5 separate regions of the Homo sapiens genome follow, and all the other regions are linked to region 5. The links are contacts of gene promoters, found by promoter capture Hi-C in blood cells and fetal thymus (Javierre and others, 2016). All regions are on one chromosome and are shown on one strand. The core of a region is centred on a gene start or on the middle of the fragment in contact, and the rest is flanking DNA. Distances in the headings are between cores, read along the strand shown.

The links. The method cuts DNA at HindIII sites, captures the fragments that hold promoters and counts their contacts. A CHiCAGO score of 5 or more calls a contact.
Region 1: a contact is called between a fragment that was not itself captured here and the fragment with the promoter of RIPK2 in region 5, in 2 of 17 cell types (activated CD4 T cells and erythroblasts). The highest score is 6.0, in activated CD4 T cells.
Region 2: a fragment that was not itself captured here is called in contact with the fragment with the promoter of RIPK2 in region 5 in 8 of 17 cell types (total B cells, naive B cells, activated CD4 T cells and 5 more); the score reaches 24.3 in total B cells.
Region 3: a contact is called between a fragment that was not itself captured here and the fragment with the promoter of RIPK2 in region 5, in 5 of 17 cell types (erythroblasts, naive B cells, total CD8 T cells and 2 more). The highest score is 7.7, in erythroblasts.
Region 4: a contact is called between a fragment that was not itself captured here and the fragment with the promoter of RIPK2 in region 5, in 1 of 17 cell types (total B cells). The highest score is 6.3, in total B cells.

What each region holds. Positions count from the first base shown.
Region 1 is chr8:90,594,784-90,597,483 of GRCh38, reverse strand. The region is part of intron 1 of LINC01030 (long intergenic non-protein coding RNA 1030); the gene reads left to right. Among named protein-coding and RNA genes, the nearest start is that of LINC01030, 9.9 kb to the left of the region's middle. The HindIII fragment of the contact is 1,347 bases long and covers 580-1,926 here.
Region 2 is chr8:90,627,239-90,629,938 of GRCh38, reverse strand. All of the region lies in intron 2 of TMEM64 (transmembrane protein 64), which reads left to right. Among named protein-coding and RNA genes, the nearest start is that of TMEM64, 17 kb to the left of the region's middle. The HindIII fragment of the contact is 1,333 bases long and covers 674-2,006 here.
Region 3 is chr8:90,577,642-90,580,341 of GRCh38, reverse strand. No RefSeq gene overlaps it. Among named protein-coding and RNA genes, the nearest start is that of LINC01030, 27 kb to the left of the region's middle. RefSeq lists an enhancer at 1-960. The HindIII fragment of the contact is 215 bases long and covers 1,328-1,542 here.
Region 4 is chr8:90,610,927-90,613,626 of GRCh38, reverse strand. No RefSeq gene overlaps it. Among named protein-coding and RNA genes, the nearest start is that of LINC01030, 6.2 kb to the right of the region's middle. The HindIII fragment of the contact is 3,080 bases long and covers 1-2,700 here.
Region 5 is chr8:89,756,566-89,759,265 of GRCh38, reverse strand. RIPK2 (receptor interacting serine/threonine kinase 2) reads right to left here and starts at 1,450. Exons shown (of 11, transcript NM_003821.6): 1 at 1,033-1,450. The coding sequence starts at 1,205. It overlaps PARAIL (palmitic acid regulated anti-inflammatory lncRNA), which reads left to right and starts at 1,555. Exons shown (of 5, transcript NR_125822.1): 1 at 1,555-2,221. RefSeq lists an enhancer at 975-1,044 and a silencer at 1,585-1,704. The HindIII fragment of the contact is 1,742 bases long and covers 894-2,635 here.

The DNA.
Region 1 (2,700 bases), core at 4-2,503, 840 kb before region 5:
CATGGAAGCTCATCTGAAAGTGTGTGGTTTGTGGTTTTCCAGATGTCTTCTCAATAGAAGTTTCCAGGTAAAGATAAAACATGTTGCAGATAAATCAAAGAGGAAAAATTCATTTCCTCTTGATTGCAATAGCCAGAGAATGTCCACTTACATACATCTGATCTAGTTTAGTGACTTGCTAGGGACTGTTTAGGGAGCTTTGACTATTGGTGATCTGGTCTGAATACCCGATGACATATGAAATACAAGGCAGGGGGAAGCAAAGAAGGTGACTCAGAGCTTGTAAACCTCATAGACCTAATAAAGTGGGCCATTATCAGGGAAAATATTACCAGGAAGACGAGGTGAATGGATGTGCTGTGAGGTGGAGAGGATGTTGAATTCATTGGGGAGCATGGAGATCTGGAGAAACTAGGGAGAGACCCAAGAGGAGAGTTAATGAAAGCAATCGGAAATTCTTGCTTGGAGTCGTGTGCGGAGATTAGGACTGGAGGTTTAGAGTTAGGGTACTCTACTCATAGGTACTCATAGCAGGAAGGGTGAAAGAGACCTACAAGGAAGAAAGGATAAAGATAAGCTTGATAAAAATAGGCCTCATCACATTACCTGGTTAACCACCTTAACAGGAGGAGAAAGTCAAAAGTTGGGCAGCGAAGGAGACAGGCCAGCTGGCCTCCTTGGTGTTCCTAAACCACCAAGCACAACCCTACTGGGGCCTGCACCTTCCATCCTCAGCCTGCAGTGCTCCTCCCACAGGGGTTGAGGTGCTTCCTTTGTGCTCCCGTAATACTCTATGTTTCTGACACTGCATTTACCAGAATATCATACTTATCTGTTTATGTTCTTGTGTCATAAGAACAAAATTCAGTGATATAAAATATTCATTGAATAAATAAACGGAAGAAATGAAATGAGAAAAGATTGTACTTAAGGCCTCATTTCAGAAATCAAGATCTTGGAGTTCTGATAAAGTGGTCTGATGAAATGTTATTTCAAATAAAATATAATTGGACACCCATTTTGTGCCAACCATTCCTGGAATAAAGGTCAGACATTCTTAGACAATGTCAGCAGGACTCTCTGCATCTCTCAGCTCTGGTGATCTAGGTACTGGCTTCTTTTCAAGCAAGCTCTCTCTAAGTGGCAGCAGATCAACATCTACTTCTTCAAAATGATTCTGTCTCTTGGGGTCACTTGCCTGTCAAGGAGGTAGAGCCCCTGGTGGGACTACCCATGGGAGAAGAAGTGAGTTTGTGAAGCAGGGTGTGATATGGGGCAAAAACAAACTTAACAGAAGTCCATTCTAGAAATCATATAAGAGGCCCTCAGGAAGTGGAGGTGAGAGGATGGCTTAAGCCAGAAGTTCTTGGCTGTAGTGTGCTATGCCAATCCGGGGTCCACATTAAGGTTGGCATCAATATGGTGATTTTCTGGGAGCAGAGTCCCATAAGATTGTCTAAGGAGGAGTGAACTGGCCCAGGTTGAAAAAGAGGCAATCAGGTGCTCATAAGTGGCAGCATGATCTGAAACCAATAGTGGAGGACAGCTAGGGAAATGGAGTGAATTCGCTTTTCTCTTCTTCCCTCTTATTGTCAGAATTACAACTGACTATCAGAGAAAAGGATGCTAGGCCTGGAATTGCCTTTGTTGTATGTTTGAGGTTCCACAGATGAAGGAGAGTTTAAGAAGAGAAAAAGATCAGCTGACAGTAAGGCCACTTGTTGGCATTAGAACATTGAGGCTTGGTGATTTTATTTATTTAAACATTGTTCTTCATTTGATATGAAAAAATAAAAATGAGAGTTTCACCTAAACTTTAAAAAGTTCTATAAAGTCCTAAACATATAATGATAATGATATAGTGTGGGCTTTGCAAATAAACTTAGGTCCAAAGCCTACTCTGCCATTTTCTACCTGTGTAAAGCTTAAGCAGGTAACTTAAGCTTTTGTATCATGTTCTCTGCAGTGCTTAACTTAGGGGTTAAATAACAAAATTCATGAAAAGCACTTAGCATATCATATAGCAGGGCATTCAAGGCTAGTGAATACTATTGGTGGTGTTATTGCTTAAAAATTTTTTATTTTGGGAAAATATACATAACATGAAACTTACAATTTTAACTATTTTAAATGTACGGCTAAGAGACAGTAAGTACATTTACATTGTTGTACCATCATCACGATCATCCATCTTCAGAACATTTTTGCATCCCAAATTGAAACCATATACTCGTTAAACAAATCTTTATTTCTCTCTTCCCTGTACCCTGGTAATCACTATACTAACTCTGTCTCTGTGAATTTGCCTATTCTAAGTACCTCATGTAAATGGAATCATACAATATTTGTCCTTTTGTGTCTAGCTTACTAAGATTTTTTTTGGTAGCAAAGGCTGAGTGAATCCGGACTGGTTAGTCATTGGTTGCCGGGCTTTCTGTACTGCATGGGTCCCAATCCATAAACTTAAATTCTATCATCTTCGTGATAATATCTACTAATTACAGGCATAATGTTCCTAGGAGAAAAGCAGTCTTTATGGCACACACTTTAGGTGTCCAAATATATTTCAACAACATTACAGGAGCAGAACTTTTTTTTAAGAAGACTGTATAAAATCTGAAAACACTTCTGAAAGGTAGCTTTGAAAAATTCTTGGGTACTTTAATTGCAGGTGAGGATAAAAAATTTCAGCCTGTGGAT
Region 2 (2,700 bases), core at 91-2,590, 870 kb before region 5:
CTATGATAAAATAAAGCCAGAGTTAATTTTCTTTGCGCTTATGAGGTACAAGTTTAGTACATAAAGTAAAACCATGAATATTTACATTGAAATATTGCCTAAATAAAGCTTATCAATAAGAGTACTTGCTTTAAGAAAAATTTTGTAATATTTTTGACATGCAAAGAGTCAGTTTTTATTTTTCTTTACTTTTTTTCCCCAGAGCTATATTTTCTTCAGATAATCTGAATCTAAGTTAAATGTTTTTGTTACAGTTGGTTTATTTATATAATACAGCATGCTAATCATATAAAGTTAAACTTTCTATGCATTATATCTATAGCACAGTATATAAATTAACATTTATGATTGTCCCAAAGAACTGTAAAATTATCTAATATGTATTGCATTCTCAGATTTTTTTAGTATGAAGTTAAGCATTTTTTTTGTAGTTTCCTGAAAATAAGTAATCTATTTGTAACATTTTTTTCCCTTTGACTTTACATTTGAGTAATTAGAATCCCTCATTGTTAGTAGCTTAGAGAGAACTTTTACTATTTGAAACTTTATATTTTTATGCATCTTAGTAAATTACTCAACTATAGTCAATGAAGTTCATGATGCTTTTTAAACTATAGAATCTTCTTTTATTCAGTGATTTCTCACCCTTTGGCTAAGCTGGAAAATTTAAGCTTAGAATACAAGACAGTGGGGAAAGCACATATTTCTTAGCCTAGGGATTTATGAAAAGAAGTGAAGACATGTTTACGCTTGTTTGATTTAATTGATATTAGTTACAGCTTAATTTGTATCAGGAGGCATTTAATGCAGCTTACAAAATATATACAAAAGGAAAAAAAGAGAGCTTAGGTTAAAGCTAGCAGAATAAGTATATTCATGAGATTCCTCTTATTTTCTAGAAACGAGCCACAAATTTGCCTCTGAGTTTTATGGCTGTCAGCCTAAAATAAAGCAATACAAAATAACTGTTCATAGGAAGCCACAACCATTTCTTGTACAGTTTGATTATCCCTTATCTGAAATGCTTGCAGCCAGAAATGTTTTAGATTTTGAATTTCCTCAGATTTCAGTATATTTACATTGTGCTTACCTGTTGAGTATCCCTAATCCAAATGTCTGGAATCTAAAGTGTTCGAATGAGCATTTTCTTTGAGTGTCTTGTTAGTGCTCAAAAACTTCGGGTTGGAGCCTTTGAGGTTTGGAATTTCTGGGTTAGGAATGCTCAAACTGTACTGAAATCCAGCTTAGATTCTGTGGTCTATTTAGTTACTCTTCCATGCCTGTTATTTTTCTATGTATCTACTAACCAAAACCCCAAACCTGAATACATCCAAGTTTTATCTGCTTTGCCCCTATTCTTTTGGGGAAGTCATGTAACCAGACACATTGATATTTAACTCATGGTTGCAAATCTTCACCTAGTTTCTCGACACTGCCCCACATCCCATCTCTCTCCTTTGTCTTCTCACTCCCCTGCTGTTGTCTTGAAATAGTTAATTATTTTAAACTATCTTCACTTCTCCTCACAATTTTGACTCCTTCGCCTGTTTCCATCTTTATTGTCAGCAGATTACCTCTCTTGCTTAACAGAAAAATCAGAAGCCTTCAACTGAGAAACCCCTGAATTTGCATATAAGAAATCTGTTAACTTCTTATGTTCCTGCCCCTGCTTAGCTTGCTTTCCAGTTAGCATTAAGAGATGCCTGTCTTTCTGTATGAGGCTTGACCTTCTGCCTGTGTTTGATTCTTTGATTTCATTTTAATAAGGAAACTTTTAAAACAATTGTCTGTACTATCTATTTCCATTTTCTAAACCCTTTTTAACACTTCACTCAGCTAAGGAAGATGGGGAAGGTGTGTTGGGGGACAGTACAAATCGTCAGGCCCTGGGATCAGAAGTGCAGCTGGGAAAGTCCCACTTAAAGATGTAACCATTTCACCCTTGCTATCTGTGGCCCTGCCACTTCCTTCCCTCAAACTGCTCTTCTTAGGGCTGTCAGTAAGCTTGTCTAAATGAGATGTACTTTCCATTTCTCATCTAGCTTGACCTGTTAGTAGTCTAAGACTCCTGACAGTGCCTTCATTATTAAAACACTCTTTCCTTAGTTTCTTTGATACCACTGTCTTAACTTTTTTTTTCCACTTGCCTAGCTTATGCTTAACTTCTTCCTTTCACCCCTTATATCTGTGTTTTTGAAGATCCTAGCTTAAGTTTTCTAGTCCTACTCTGAAAACTTTTTTACAGCAAATCCAGTTACTCTGATGGTTGCTAATATGTGTATTTGGGTCAAGACCCTCCGCCTGCCCTCATCCTACTCCCCAGCACTTGTCTTTAGCTCAGCCCTCTTTCCATAGCTTCAGACCCCTTCACTGACATCCATGAACTTTTTTGGATATCTAAGAGGCACCTCGAATTCAGCATGTCTTAAACAGAAGGTAGCATCTAATTCACAAAGCACCCGCCCCCGCCCCCATATTTTTTTCATCTCTTTACATGGTGTTTCCATTTGTTGATACATAGCAAACTTAGGAGTTTTCGGTAAATATATCTTGTTTCTTTTAAGAGAAGTAACAGAAAACAGTTACAGAATTTAAAGACCCAGCTTTAAGATGCCTAACTTATTTACGATTTTACTGAGTGATGGGTACTCATTTAATGGCACCCCCTTGTGCAAGTTCCAAGTTCCTCCCCTCTCACAC
Region 3 (2,700 bases), core at 186-2,685, 820 kb before region 5:
GCTATTTCAGCAGTTTCCTTTTGCTTAGTCATGTGAAACTGCTGCCTGGAATTTTCTTTTCTCCTGTGACCACCCTGTATTATTCCTGCCTCAGTCAGAACAGCCATAGGAAACCAATGCACTCATATTTTGAACTTTAAATAGAATGAGGCTAAGATATCTGAAATGTTATCATTTTTTTCTTTTTCATCAAGACAATTTCAGGAAATAATAACTCCTTCACAGCATTTCACTCAGTTTTACTAATAAGTGGCTGAGTAATTGTCACTGGCAGCCCAGTAATGGATCTTAAAATAATACACAACTCTTCTTTTGAGGAAATGTGTGAGTTAACATGGGTCACAAACTTTGTCTTTTAATATTCTTTCCTCAGTTGACATAATGCAGTGGGTGTCCTACGTTTGCAAGAAACGGCAGGGGGAGTTCTTGAGTGTCCTTGAGAATAACCCACTGACCTCTTAGTGCTGAGGCTCAGGCTGCAGACCACAAATTTATCTACTTGTGTGCATTTCCTATTACTCTCTTCTGTACACCAGGTCTCTATTAGCTGCTTATTTCTAGCATCTGGGCCAAATTGTAAGTCTGGGAAAATGCTGAATAGCCCTTCGCAAAAGTGAAGCAGAGGAAAGGTTATCAAAGAATGTCAAATAAATGTGCATACTAATTACCAGTCTCTTTGGTTTTTATTATGTAAACCAGTTGGAATGTTATCCCTGCTCCCCCGCTATCCCCCATCATACCTTCTTGTGTCTTTTAGGAATTTATATTCAAAACCTCTATTCCAATTAGACTTCACAAAAGACCTTTGGATTCAGCTACTTTCCTTTTCAGATTTCATTCTCAGGAGAGTGTAGTTAATGATAGCAGATCAGCAAGTGGATATTTTAGAGAGGTTCTTAGGCTTTGACCCAGTTCTGCTGCTGCTCAGATTTCTGAGTCCTACCTGGTACTTAGCCAAAAGTACCTCAAAACCACCTTCCACTTAGCCATGGTGATCTCAGGGCTCCATGGTGCTGGTTTATCTTAGGCTAGTACCTTACTGATGAATACACTCTGAAAAAGGAAACACAAAGATGTCTTCCAGCCTTATTTAAAATGACTTGTTGCAAGATGCCACTTTGTTCTTTGTGGCAAGTGATCCTAGTTTAAGAACATCAGTTTTCCAATTTGACTAGGAGTTATTTGTTGGAATGCAGAAATTAATGATTGAAAATTTTTTCTTCAATAATGTTTATGTGAAGATTTGCTGTTGCCTCAAACTTCCTAATAAAGACATTTGGGACAAATGGAATTTTGTCCATATTTGAACCTGCTATCAGTTAAAGCTTTAGAGTTCGTATACATTTGGGTGTTGTTTTTATGGTGCAAGTTGAAAAGCAGTTACTGACTGTAGAGCTAAACTTGAAGTTGCCTGCTCTCCGTGGGTGGTGAGTCCTTTTCATAATTCATTGTGTACACACTTCAAGTCTCAGTGGAAATCTAGGAATACTAAGAAGTAAAAGACAAGATGCTTGGCTAGCAGGTCGAGTATTTGGGTAAGCTTAGCTAGGTTACAGGGAGCACTGGCTAGAAAGAAGGGTTCAATTCTGAGAAGAAACTAAAAATACAAAGAAAAGAGGGGGACAGAGACACAAGTTCAGATGAGGCAGGAGGGCTCAAGGAAGGTTAAATTTGTGACAGAGGAGGGGTACAGTCATGGAATTAGAAGAGAAAGGGAAAAGGTGGGATTAAGTGTTGATTTGCTAGCTTTTGAAATGAGAGTTGAGGGATTTCAGAGGGTATCTATTTCAGTGAGGAAAATACAAATGAGGTTCGAATTTGAAGAGGGGAAATTTCAATACAGTATTTGTGAATAATATGGCAGAAAGTCAATATTTAATGAATGAAAATGTTGTGGATCAGAATGAGAGCCAGGGTGAGGCTGCATATCACAAGTCTGTAATAAAACAATCCGTTAGGCCATAGTGTCCAAATCCAGGTTTCCACACCCTTGGGTCTGTGGACCTTGTGCCTAGGATACATGTGACCATGGAACATAACACATCTTCCTCTAGTGTCAATTTTACTTGGAACATTTGCAGTGAAATTGCAATTGCTTAGATCAATATTTTAAAAATCATTTTAATATAGAAGGATAGGATGAAAATCAGGTTTGTTAAATTTTTAAGGTAAATGAGAAACTTCAAACAAATACTGTAGTAAGCCTTTTTTTTGTTCTTTTCTGTTTTTCTTTGCTTTTTTAGAGATGGGGACAGGGAATCACTCTGTCACACAGGCTGGAGTGTAACGGTACAATCATAGCTCACTGTGACCTTTAACTCCTGGGCTCTAGCAATCTTTCCACTTCAGATTAATCAGTAGCTGGGCCTACAGGCGCACACATCACTACACCCAGCTAGGTTTTTTTGCTTTATTTTTAGTAGAGACAAGGTCTTACTATGTTGCTGATGTGATTGGACTGTGCCCCTATCCAAATCTCACCTTGAATTATAATGATCCCCACGTGTCAAGGGCAGGGCCAGGTAGGAGATAATTGAATCATGGGAGTGGTTTCCCCTATTCTGTTCTCATGGTAGTGAATAAGTCTTATGAGATCTAATGGGTTTATAAATGAGAGTTCCCTGCACAAGCTCTCTTGCCTGCTGCCATGTAAGATGTGACTTTGCTCCTCATTTGCCTTCCACCATGATTGTGAGGCCT
Region 4 (2,700 bases), core at 18-2,517, 850 kb before region 5:
CACTAGCTCTCTATGACAGTCCTGGAAGTTAATTTTTTTTTCTTTTTCATTTTAATGGCACAGTCTCTACAATTATCAGACACCTGCATCCAAGAGCACCCATTAGCATCTTATAGCTGCTTATAAACCGCCTTTTGAAAAGGATCAAAACAAGACAGTTATCTGTGGAAGACAAAAGTCAGGACAGCCACAGTTAAAGATGCAACTGAAAAGGAAACCTGGTCATTTTTATGGCACATAACCATATAGTAATTATTATTATTTATAACATATACTCAGTCATATCAGAATTATAGGAAAAGTATATAATGTTGGAACACATATTAATAACACATTTATTGACTGCAGCCAAAAAAAAGTTGAATACCATTTTATATTTGACAATGCTCTCTGTATGATTTTAGTATACCAAATAAGTCAAATACGTCTCTTTTGGACTTCAGGGGACCTAATACTTAAAAGTTAATGAGGTCAAAAATATACTTAAGTCAGAATTTGATTTTGGAATGTTTGTCAAATATCTAACGTTTAACACTTGATATCACAAAATAGAATTCTAGGTCATTGTAAGTCATTTATTTAGCCAAAATAATAATTTAAAATTTCAAAAAGGCAAAAATCTTTACTTGTTAATAGAGAGGAGTCTCAACTTGTTAAGACCAATACAGATAGCATGAAGCCAACTGAAACTGTCTTTTCTCTCTCCCCTGTATTTAAATGACAAATAAATTTTTTTTATTTCTCAATGTTATGAAAATCTTATTTAAAAGAGAAAGCCAAATTTTAATTTTGCATTAGTGTATTCTTAATGTTATACTCAATTTTTAATATTTTGTAAATAAATCTGTCCAATTTTAATTAGTTTGACTATGAGGTATAATTTTTATGTCTATTTTTATAATCCTTTCTAATTTTTTATTAAAGGGAATATCAGTGTTCTAAGGAAACTCTGTTATTTAGACAGATGGACCTAGATTCTGGCCCTGCATCAGTGTACTCTTATTTTAATATTTTAATTTATGGAAGAACTAAGTAATATCCTTTTAATTTTGGCCAACTTGCTTATATACAGAATTTTGTTAAAGCCAATTAATTACAGTTCTTTTATGTATTTTGGTAACAAAATATGTTCCCAGCATATATAAATAGACAGAAGCAGATCTGGTGGGGGGATAAGATGATGATGATGATGATTGTTATTATTATTATTATTAATTAAGACAGTGTCTCTGTTGTCCAGGCTAGAGTGCACTAACATAATCATGGCTCACTGCAGCCTTGACCTTCTGAGCTCAAGCAATCCTCCCACCTCAGCCTCCCAAGTAGCTGGGACTACAGGTGCACACCACCCTGCCTGGCTAACTGTGATAAGATTCTTTGTCAGTTTTTAAGTTTTCCTTTTTGACCTCAGACCATTAGTCTCTTGATTATCTGTTCTCTGATCTAAATAATTGTCAGCCAGGCAATTCTAAATTTGTGTTTTTAAATGGATAATTTTTAGGTGAAACAAAATAAAGAACTTATATTTTATTTAAACCAAGGGAAAATGGTGTGGATAAAAGTTTAGTCAAGATGACCAGGAAAAACAGACACGCTTACACGGGGAGATTTTTTTTTTTTTTTTTTTTTGAGACGGAGTCTTGCTCTGTTGCCCAGGCTGGAGTGCAATGGCGTGATCTCAGCTCACTGCAACCTCCACCTTACACAGAGAGACTTTTTAAAGATCTGTTTCTTGATTGGATTATTGGCTTCAGGTTGGAGTCTTTTAGGGAACAGGGTCAGGAAAGCATGCAGTTTTTAGGGTCCAATAAGCAGGCACAGCTGGAAGGCAAAACAGATCCCCAAGATCAAGGATCTCATTTTTACACCAAATCCTGGGGTCTCCAAAAGAGGGAAATACTATAAGACAAGACAGTGCAATCATTCCACAGTGTATCTCATTGAAAGGACATTTCTCCTAGGCCGCTTGGCAACCCAATGCCAATCAGCCTACGCTATAATCACCCCATCTTCCATTCTGTACCTTCTAGGTGTTTACAAGCATGCTTTCCTTATTTCAACATAGAAAGAAAGACGTACAACCCTGTGGTGATCATCGTTCACTGTAAGCAACTGACATCAGCCATTTAAAAAAGTATATCTCTTATCTAGCTATTATACATTAAGGTTAAATTTTCTCATAATGCAAATTAATCCTGGTGCCCCCAAAAGTCAGAGATTAGATACAGTGGAAGGAGGGACAAACAGGAGTAAATGAGAAACAGAATTCAGTTGACTGAGTAGTTTTTACAGAGGGAGAGCAAGAGCCTTAAAACAATATCTGTACCCATATAGTCCAAATTAAATCAATTTTAACTACAGAACTTTCAAAAAAAATCCTTTAAAAAAATTTCTTATTACCAGATTTCAGCAGGAACAAACAGTGGATATTTTCAGCTTTTGAATTTTTTACCAAAGGTAACCTCCCACATAAAATTAATAATCCTTAACTCAGGCTATGACTTAACCACAGACACATGAGGTGTCTCCAAAGAGATGGCAAGTGAGCTTTACAAGATCTAAAATCACCCTAAAGGTAGCTCAGGGAAAGAAAAATTTAAGACAGGATATCAGAAGCTGTACATGGAGGAAAAAATAATAAATGGCAAAAGTCCCACAATTTTTAAACCAGAAAGGACTTGTTCCCTAATCTGGGAATTG
Region 5 (2,700 bases), core at 201-2,700:
GTCTATGGCACGCGGTTGTAATGTTCTTCTGAAAACAGAAACTAATGCTAACCTTCCCTTAAAACCTGTACAAACCAATAAGTGAAAGCCATTTACAATTTCTGGCCATTTAACAGTCTTTTGGTTCAATTTATTGTGGCAAAAATAGCACACATTTCCTCTACTTAATCTTCCCTGTGAGAGAAACTGAGACTGGGAGAAACTGAACTGCTAGTATTGAGTTTGATATAAAACGTTCCTGACAACACATAATAAACCAAAACCAAAATAAAAACAATAAGAAGCAAAACATCCTTGATTCTAAAGCAGTGCGGTCCAATAAACATATAATGTGAACACCACCACATACAATTTAAAATTTTCTCGTGGCCACATAAAGTAAAAAGAAACACATAAAATGAATTTTAATCTTATATTTAACCCAAGATATCAAAAATGTTATTTCAGCATATAATCAATAAACAAATAATAAAATATTATAAGTTCTTTTTTTAATAAATACTAAGCATTCGAACTCTGGTATTTTACACTTAGGTCACACTTCAATTCGGACGGGCACATTTCAAGTGCTCAATAGCCACCTGTGGCTAAGAGCTACCTACTGGACAGTGCAGCCCTACAGCCCAATTTCAAAAATAAGGAAAAAACAAAGCAAACAAAACCCACACCCACTATATATAAACACACATCAATTTCAGTAAACCCAGCGTTTAGAGTTAGGCAGTGATTGCTGATTTTTGGAGTACGGAGCCAGAACGCCTAGGAGTAAGAGGGAAGGAGAGAAAGGGTAATGGAGAGATGTGTGGAGGAATGCAACTGCTGCATCTCCAGAGAAGCCTGTGCTCCCTACGGTGCCAGAGCTTGAAGGGTGGGTGCTCCCTATCTCCCAAGCTTGAAGGGCTCCCTAGAGGTGACGAGGTGAGGCCGGCCCCAAGCGGTCACTGCCATTTGGGCTCTAGAGCCCGCTTGTCAGGGGGCTTGAGGGGATGCAGGAGTTGAGGGCTCTTCCAGGGAACCCCAGTGACTGCCTACCTGTCGAGCAGCGGAGTGTGGATGTGCAGGTGCTTCACGGCCACCTGGACGCGCCAGTCTGCGTGGCGGGCGGACGACACAGTGCCAGAGGCGCCGCGGCTCAGGTAGCGCAGGTCGGCGAGTTTGTGGTAGGGAATGGTGGGCAGGGCGCTGCAGATGGCCTCCCCGTTCATGGTCCCGGGCGCTCAGGCCGGTTCCGGGTGTGCCCCCTGCTGCGGCGGCTCCCAAGGCTCCCACGCCGCGCTCAGGCGCCCAGATACGCCCCTGCACGAGCGAGGCCGGCAAGACCCTTTTTGCCCCGCAACACTAGGTCACGAGGGCGCCCATTCCCCGGATGGCCCACGCCAGCCGCTGCTTCTCCGAACCAGAGCTGACTTCTTTTCTAGAGACTGGTGCCAACGCCGTAGCGCCGCGAAAGAGCTTCCTCTCTCGCAGCCCCGGCCCTCCCCCCGGCGCGCGCAGCGACCAGCTCCGGCCGCCCGAGCTCCTCCCTCCCCAAACTTCGCAGGTTACGTCAGCGGCGGACGGCAAGGCGGGGAGAGGGGCAGCCCGCTCGCGGCCCTCCCGCCTGGCTCTCGCCTCGGCCTGCGGCCGGGATCCTCCGCCCGGGTCGCGCAGCGGAGGCCGAGGGCTGGGACGGGCGGCTGGGAAGTGGGAAAGGGAGCTCCTTTTGTCTTCTCTTCCCATCCCCCAGGTTTGGGAAAGTTTTCCTTTTGGGAAAGCCCCTCTCTTCAGCCTGCTGGCGGGTGTCGGATTGGTTAGCGACCACCGGCCCCCGCCTCCCCCAACAGGATTCTCCTTTGGGCCACAGGTCTTCCGGAAGTTGCCAAACCCCGGTAGCGGCAGCGTCCGGCTGGGGGCTTTATTAGGGGGCACCGGGGTCTGCTTTCCGACTCCCTTCCGACTCCGCGCCTGCGCAGGAAGCGATTTGGGGAGTGTTGTGAATTCCGAGGGCTCCACACTTAAGAGGTTGTACACTCACCTGTCTACCTGGACTCCAATTTCCATATTTCCAGCCACTTGAGGACTGAGAGGTGGATGATAAACCCTGTCATAGTGGAGCAAGTTCAGGTGTTTAACCGCTGTTATGGGGGATCTGCCTTTTCTCCCTCTTCTTTCTTACTTCCATAAGTATGTATGTGCAGAGATTGAAAAATAACCTTGAGAGAGTCCATCCATCTAACTCCAGGTAAGACTGCAAATATTTCTTTCTTATAAATCTGGGAGGAATGCAGTCAGTGTTTCATGCCAACCAAAAAAGACTGCAAACGTTTTTCCATCCTTCTGCCTTGAATACCTTTCTACTTAGATGACTATTTTGTAAGACGTGAGTGCAAATGTTATATACAATACCAACTCCATACTAGATGTTTAATTAATTCTAGGGATTCAGTAATAAGGAATGACTCGAACAGATTTCTGCCTACAGACAGCTAATGCTTCTTGTATTTTTGCATTACCTGAAATGAAAGTAGCAATGTTAGATTTTACAGTAGTGGGAGGTTGTAAACAATAGTATGTTAAACATTTTTGATCATTTATAATAAAATGTTCAGCACTAAACATATGGTCTGATACTCTGTGCTTTATTGCTTAATAAGCTTTTTTTTTTCTTTTCGAGAGGGAGTCGTGCTCTGTCACCCAGGCTGGAGTGTAGTGGCGCGATCT